2 separate regions of the Homo sapiens genome follow, and region 1 is linked to region 2. The links are contacts of gene promoters, found by promoter capture Hi-C in human tissues and cell types (Jung and others, 2019). All regions are on one chromosome and are shown on one strand. Each heading gives the region's core, a stretch centred on a gene start or on the middle of the fragment in contact. The rest is flanking DNA. Distances are from core to core; before and after follow the strand shown. Region 1 holds the start of SPG7 (SPG7 matrix AAA peptidase subunit, paraplegin). Region 2 holds the start of FANCA (FA complementation group A).

Region 1 (3,797 bases), core at 1,241-3,740, 310 kb before region 2:
GTTCGACACGGAGCTAGGCACTCGGTGATGTTGGCTGTCGTCACTGGCATTCACTGTTACGAATTTGCGGAGTACAGAAAAGCATAAAAATAAATAGGTCACCCTCATCCTACCTCTGTGACAGACCATCTAGTCTTTGCTTTTCCTACTCAACAAGCTTTCCAGCTCTTGGCGTCAGCTCTAGACCTAAGGCGGACGGAGGAAGGGGTCGGGGTGGCGGAGGACCCCGCGCGCCTGGGAGCCCACGAGGGACCCTGCCCGGGCCCGGAGGGCGGACCCTGAAGAGAACAGAGCCTCTTCCTAAGCTTCCAGACGGCGCCTCCCCGCTTCCTACGATGGGCTCGCGCAGCGGCCGGGGCAGGACCGAGGCTCGAAGCGCCTCCGAGGTGAGCCAGTCCGAAGGCACAGGACGGAGCGCTCCGAAGTCAGAGGTGTGCGGGACGAGCTCTGCAGACGCCTGCCAGGCCGCGCCGCACTGCGCGCTCCCTCCCTCACGACCCTCCTCCTCCGGGGCTGCCCTCCCTGCGGCGGCTGCAACTTCAGTCCTCGTCCTCGGGCGGCTCAAGACGCAGGAAAACCGCCCCCTTCCTGCGCTCCTCACACCCGAAGGGGCCCTCCCGACCCGAGGCCTCCGGCGCCGCCCTCCTGAGCGCGGGCCTCTACTCGCAGGCGGGATTCCGGCCCGCACCATCCGCCCTCGCCTGTGACCGAACCCTGCGGGTGACGCAGGCTGCCCGGGCGTGAGGCCCCTCGGCGCGGGCGGAGCACGACCACGCAGCCACGACCCGGCCGGTTATTCACCCGCCAGGCCCTGGGAATACAAGGCCGGCTTCAAAAAAACCAGGGCACCCGCGACCTCCTCGCAGACGCGCGCCCCCATACCCGGGCCTCAGGCAGCCACGAGGTAGACGGGCTCAGGCTCGGGGGTGCGGCAAGCGGCACCCGGGCGCGGCGGGGCGCAGCTGTGGGGACCGCGCAGGCGCCACGTCAGACCCCGCCCACCCCGCCGCGCAGGCGCCGTGTAGCGCCCCGCGGATCACGCAGGCGCGGCTTTCAGGCCAACATGGCCGTGCTGCTGCTGCTGCTCCGTGCCCTCCGCCGGGGTCCAGGCCCGGGTCCTCGGCCGCTGTGGGGCCCAGGCCCGGCCTGGAGTCCAGGGTTCCCCGCCAGGCCCGGGAGGGGGCGGCCGTACATGGCCAGCAGGCCTCCGGGGGACCTCGCCGAGGCTGGAGGCCGAGCTCTGCAGGTAAATCCCCGCGGAGTCCGGGCCCCACCTCCCGCCCGGCTCTGCTCTGTAAGGCCCAGCCCGGCGGGGCGGGTCGGAGGCCGCCTGGCCCCTGCGGCGGGGGAGCCTGCGCCTGTGGGCCCGCGGATCCCCCAGCTGTGGACCTCGGCGCGGAGCGACTGTTGGGGCCCTGGATCGTGGGCGCTGGGCGGGCCGGGAAGAGGCAGGGCTGGGATCCGCGCAGTCCTCGGCGTGGACTTTCCCAACCCGTCTGTTGTGTGTGGATGTTCTCCGCCCGTCTTCCTCGCCTTTTAAAGTGGAATCCAGTAACGGTTTCCGGCGTAGCACTAATTTACAGTCCACGCCTGTGGATCGATTCCGTCACCAGGAATTCCAGCGCCTTCCAGTTAGGGTGGTTATTGCCGAGTAGGGGGCCCAGAACGTTTCTGTGTCCGCAAAATACCCTGTAGCTGCATTTTGCTGTTGTCATGTAGCTCGGCACGTTATTGATACAGTCATTGAGCACCCCCTGTAGTGCGGCCTTGTTTCAGGTTCTGCTAAGGATAGGATAGCATCTCCTCCCGAAAACCAGACCTTGTGTCCTTCAGCTTTTGGGCTGATGTTTTTTTCTCCTAGCCCTCGCCTAGGAGCTTAGCCCACACCTTTTAGGTTGTTGTTTTTTCGGTTATTTTTGAGACAGAGATCTCGCTCTGTCGCCCAGGCTGGAGTGCAATGGTCTTGGCTCACTGCAACCTCCGCCTCCCGGGTTCAAGCGATTCTCCTGCCTCAGCCTCCTGAGTAGCTGGGATTACGGGTGCGCGCCACCACACCCAGCTAATTTTTGTATTTTTAGTAGAGACGGGGTTTCACCATGTTGGCCAGGATGGTCTCCATCTCTTGACCTTGTGATCCGCCTGCCTCGGCCTCCCAAAGTGCTGGGATTACAGGGCGTGAGCCACCGCGCCCGGCCATAAAACATATTTAAATGGGAAAATGTTTATCTTGAAAGGAGAACTCTGAAAGTATATACTTGTTAACTGGTTTGGTACCTGGAAATGTTCTACAAGGAGCCACTCTCTGGTGACAGCAGGAGCCCCGTGTCTGGGCAGCCACTGTGGCCTTTGGAGAGCTGGGCTGCTCCCTTTCTCCTGCAGAAGCTTCAGGCCATGGGATAGCAGCCAATGTACTTCTGTGTTTTGTTTTCTTCTTTTTTTTTTTTTTTTTTTTTTGTGACAATCTCGCTGTGTCGCCCAGGCTGGAGTGCAGTGGCCTGATCATGGCTCCCTGAAGCCTCTGCCTCCTGGGCCCAAGCAATCCTCCCACCTCAGCCTCCCAAAGTGCTGGGATTACAGACATGAGCCACCGTGCCTGGCCACTATCGTGATTTTTTGTTTGTTTATTTGTTTGTTTTTTGAGATGGAGTTTCCCTTTGTTGCCCAGCCTGGAGTGCAGTGGTGCTATCTCGGCTTACTGCAACCTCTGCCTCCCGGGTTCAAGCGATTCTCCTGCCTCAGCTTCCTGAGTAGCTGAGATTACAGGTGTGCACCACCACGCCCGGCTAATTTTTGTATTTTTAGTAGAGATGAGGTTTCACCATGTTGGCCAGGCTGGTCTCAAACTCCTGACTTCATGTGATCCACCCGCCTCAGCCTCCCAAAGTGTTGGGATTACAGCCGTGAGCCACCACGCCTGGCCAATTACTGTGTTTTAACCTGTTTACTTGCTTTTGACATTTTGATGTTACCTAAAGCTTTGACCTATTGCTCAGACTATTACTTTATATTTCAGGGCAATGTAGATATTACAAATAATTATATATTTGAACTTTTAAAAACGATTTTTAGTCTGCATTGCTTTGGTACTCTCTAATGTTGGTGTGACCTCCAGTATTGTTTTTTTTTTTTTTTCAGAGCTTACAATTGAGACTGCTAACCCCTACCTTTGAAGGGATCAACGGATTGTTGTTGAAACAACATTTAGTTCAGAATCCAGTCAGACTCTGGCAACTTTTAGGTATGTATCTGTTTAAAGAAGCAGCTGAGCATGACTGCACACTTACCGCCTCAGCTACTTGGGAGGCTGATCTTTTTTTATTTTAGAGACGGGATCTCGCCCTGTTGCACGGGCTGGAGTGCAGTACAATGGTGTGATCAGAGCTCACTACAGCCTAGAACTCCTGGGCTCAAGGGATCCTCCCCACTTTGCTTCCGGAGTAGCTAGGACTACAGGCGTGTACCGTCACACTCGGCTAATTGTTTTTTGTAGAGACAAGGTCTCACTTTGTTGTCCAGGCCCAAAGGGGCCTCTTTACTCCCTTATCCCCCAGTTGCAGAGCCTTGACCTCTTAGGCTGGAGTGATCCTCCCACCTCAGCCTTCCATAGAGCCAGGACTCCAGGCACACACCAAAGCGCCTAGCTAATTTTTGGGGGGTATTTTTTGTGGAGATGGGGTTTTGCCACGTTTCCCAGGCTGGTCTTAAACTCCTGGACTCAAGCGATCAGCCTGCCTTGGCCTCCCAAAGTGTTGAGATCACAGGCATGAGCCACCGCATCTGGCCAAGTTGTCCTTTTT
Region 2 (3,864 bases), core at 658-3,157:
AGACCAGCCTGGCCAACATAGTGAAACCCTGTCTCTACTAAAAATACAAAAATTAGGAGGGCATGGTGGCGCGTGCCTGTAGTCCCAGCCACTCGGGAGGCTGAGACGGGAGAATCACTTAAACCCGGGAGGTGGAGGCTGCAGTGAGCCGAGATCACCCCACTGCATACCAGCCCAGGCTACAGTGTGAGACTTTGTCTCAAAAAAAATAAATGAAAATAAAAAATAAAAATAAAAAAAATTCAAGATCTGTGCATAAACACAACCTGTGTGTAAGTAATGCTTCCCTACTGGGCTATTTTCCTTTTTTTCTTTTTTGAGAGGGAGTCTCACTGTCGTCCAGGCTGGAGTGCAATGGCGGGATCTCACTCACGGCGACCTCCACCTCCCAGGTTCAAGCGATTCTCCTGCCTCAGCCTCCTGAGCAGCTGGGATTACAGACACCTGCTACCATACCCGGCTAATTTTTGTATTTTAAGTAGTGACGGGGTTTCACCATGTTGGTCAGGCTGGTCTCGAACTCCTAACCTCAAGTGATCTACCCACTTCGGCCTCCCAAAGGGCTAGGATTACAGGCGTGAGCCACCACGCCCGGCTTTTTTTTTTTTTTTTTTTTTTTTTTTTTTTGTGAGACAGTCTCACTCTGTAATCCAGACTGGATTGCAAGGGGCGTGATCTCGGCTCACTGCAATTTCTGCCTCCCGGGTCCAGGTTCAAGCAATTCTCCTGCCTCAGGCTCCCGAGTAGCTGGGATTAAAGGCGTGCGCCACCACACCCAGCTAATTTTTGTATTTTCAGTAGAGACCGGGTTTCACTATGTTGGCCAGGCTGGTCTCGAACTCCTGACCCTGAGTGATCCACCCGCCTTGGCCTCCCCAAAAGCTGGGATTACAGCCCTGAGCCACGGCGCCCGGCCTGTTTTTTTGTTGTTGTTGTTTTGTTTTTAATAAAAGAGGCGGGGTCTCACCCCGTTGCCCAGGTTGGTCCAGAACTCCCGGGCTCAGGCGACCCTCCCCTCTGCGGGCCAGGCCACCGCGCCCGCCGCCTCGGGTGTTTTCTTAGGAAAGCTGTGCGGTGGCTGGACTCAAAAACCCCGAACCTAAATCTGCCCGCAGACGGACACCAGCTTCCTCTTACCTCAAGCAAAAGGGCATTCAGGTCCTGATGGCTTCGCAGGAGGCGCACAGCTGATTCCTTTAATTTCTGTGCCCTTTCAGGATTATATTTTTCCCTCTTGACCCTTCCCGCTACGGAGAGAAGTCGGTTCGAAACCATCACAGCACAATTCACACACGGGGTCCCCGGCCCGACGCGCAGGTGGACGCCGCGGAGAAACCCACCAGCGACACCCTCCCGAAGAGGGGCCGGGGCTCCTCCCCAGGGCGCAGGTCTCGGGAAACTAACGGAGACGGCCCCACCGCGGACGCCGGGGAAGACGGCCCAGGAGGGCCCGAGGCAGGGGAGCCCGGGGACGGCTGGCGAGGGGCGGCCTCTGCGCTGAGGGGAGCCCCAGGCCGCGCACCCCAGGCCCGCCTGACAGGGCGGCCGGCGGGGGCGGCGTTCGGGAAAGAAGGGAGCGCCCCGCGGGCGGCGGCTGGGGGCGTCCGCCCAGGCGCAGGAGGGGCCGGGTCCGAGGCAGCCGCGCCGCCCCAGCCGGGCGCCCACCCCGCACAGCCCCCCGGGCGCGGCGTCCGGGGATCCGACCGGCGGAGGCTCTGGCGGGAAGGGATCGGGGAACCGGCGAAACCGTCCCGGGCCGGACGCCGCCCACTCCCGCGGCCTGCCGCGCCCACCTACCCAGCAGCTCGGCCCAGGCCCTCCGGCGGCCCCCTGGGTCCTGGCCCGAGGCGGAGTTCGGGACCCACGAGTCGGACATGGCCTTGGCGCCTACAGCCCCGGCGGCGGCTCCCTGCGCCCGAGCCCGCGCTGCCTTCCTATTGGCTGCGGCCAGGCGCGCACACCCGTTGGCTGGCGGCGGCCAGGCCACGCCCCTCAGGTCGAGGCCTTGCGTCGTGGCCATGTTGGTCCTGGGGGAGGCGCCTGCGCGCGGTGAGGTAGTTTTTGCGTTTGGCTTTGCCGCCGCGGTGTAGTCCGCGGGGGCGTCTCGCGCGGGCAGACTGCCGCCCCTCAAGCGTGGTTCCTGCCGGGAATGACTGGGGTTGGTCCTGAAGAGACCACCTGGCCAACCAAGCCGAGGCAGGCTCAGAGCGCCGCGGGGAGCGCAAAGCCGCGCGCGCCTCTGAGCTCCGGGCAGCCGCTGTTCCTCCCGGCGGCCGAACGGTCCGCGCGCAGGGCGGTGTTTCGGCAGCCGGAGACCGCGCGGTAGCCGCGCCTGTATTCCCAGCGCTTTGGGAGGCCGAGGCTGGAGGGTCGCTTGAGCCCAGGAATTCCAGACTAGCCTGGGCAACAGAGCGAGACCCCATCACTTTTGTTTCTTTTCTTTTTTTTTTTTTTCCTTTTTTTGAGACGGAGTCTCCCTCTGTCGCCCAGGCTGGAGTGCAGTGGCGCGATCTCGGCTCACTGCAACGTCTGCCTCCTGGGTTCAGGTGATTCTCCTGCCTCAGCCTCCCGAGTAGCTGGGATTGCAGGTGCGCGCCACCACGCCTGGATGATTTTTGTTATTTTTAGTAGAGACAGCGTTTCGCCATGTTGGCCCAGGCTAGTCTCGAACTCCGGACCTCAGGTGATCCGCCCGCCTCGGCCTCCCAAAGTGCTGGGATTACAGGCGTGAGCCACCGCACCCGGCTGAGACCCTATCTTTTAACCAGCCTGGGCGGCAGAGCGAGACTCTGTCTCAAAACAAAACCAAACATAAGAATTCGTAAAAGCGAGTGCCTAGGCGAAGCTAATGTGCCTCAAAGTCCTGGGTAAGTAGAGGCCCTGGAGACCCGTCCGCATCCTCTGGCAGTGGCCTTGGAACCACCGAAGGGATTCAGCCGAAGGGCCGCGTTCCCGGCAGGCGTCTTTATTGTGTTGATTACGTAGATGGCGTAGATGACGTAGATGACGTTCAGCACCACAAACGAAGAGCCGAGGCACAGAGTGGGGCCTTGGATTCATGAGATGGGGATGGAGCAGAAATGAGAATTCGGAGTCCATGAAACCCCCACAAAGACTCCTGCACGGCCCGACTCGGACACTTTGCAATCTGCTGGTTGAGGGGGATGGTGTGAACTCAGGGAACAGCCTGAGATCGCGCCGCTGCACTCCAGCCTGGGCAACAGAGCAAGACCCTGTTTCAAAAACAAAAAATAACACTAAGCAATTAACAGGACTAGACTCAGAGGTGATCGAGAAATTGAAACAGGCTGGAAATTTAAATTAACTGTGATTAATATGTGGAGGTCTCTTGTACGAAAGGTGAACAATATGCATGAGGAGGAAACTCATCAAATTATAAGAAAGGAAGAACGCTGATAACAGGTAATTTTTCTGATGGGGCAGCAGTAGGATCAACACAGCTGAGAAAAATAGGAATTACCCACGTTGGAAAATAAAGAAGAAAAAAAGTTTTTTTTTAAAAAAAGCATCCAAGAACTGTGGGAAAATATCAAATGATATCATATGCATGTAATAGGACTCCCAAAAGAAGAAGAAAGAACAAATCATAAAAAATGTTTGAAGAGAAAATTACCAATAATTTTCCCAAAATAATGAAAGACCTGAGCTCAGAGCACACACAAAACTTGATAAATATGAGCCCCTGCCTGACACATGCAGTGTATTCAAACTGTGGAAATCAGAGAGAAAACCATGAAGATGGCCGGAGGAAAAAGATACGTTAAATACAGTAACAAAGGTAAGAATTCCAGCCTGGGCAATATGGCAAGACCTCGTCTCTACAAAAAATACAAAATTTTTTTT

Evidence for each region. The method cuts DNA at HindIII sites, captures the fragments that hold promoters and counts their contacts. A contact is called where the count stands out against the background at its distance.
Region 1: a fragment that was not itself captured here is called in contact with the fragment with the promoter of FANCA in region 2 in 1 of the 25 tissues and cell types used here (aorta).

What each region holds. Positions count from the first base shown.
Region 1 is chr16:89,507,355-89,511,151 of GRCh38, forward strand. SPG7 (SPG7 matrix AAA peptidase subunit, paraplegin) reads left to right here and starts at 1,049. Exons shown (of 17, transcript NM_003119.4): 1 at 1,049-1,246; 2 at 3,136-3,238. The coding sequence starts at 1,064. LOC101927863 (a long non-coding RNA gene) reads right to left here and starts at 966. Exons shown (of 5, transcript NR_188547.1): 1 at 883-966. RefSeq lists silencers at 363-432, 553-762, 833-1,392, 1,423-1,542. The HindIII fragment of the contact is 4,518 bases long and covers 232-3,797 here.
Region 2 is chr16:89,814,740-89,818,603 of GRCh38, forward strand. It overlaps FANCA (FA complementation group A), which reads right to left and starts at 1,908. Exons shown (of 43, transcript NM_000135.4): 1 at 1,798-1,908; 2 at 1,138-1,247. The coding sequence starts at 1,876. RefSeq lists silencers at 1,412-1,461, 1,692-1,981 and enhancers at 1,842-2,136, 2,522-2,571. The HindIII fragment of the contact is 15,845 bases long and covers 1-3,864 here.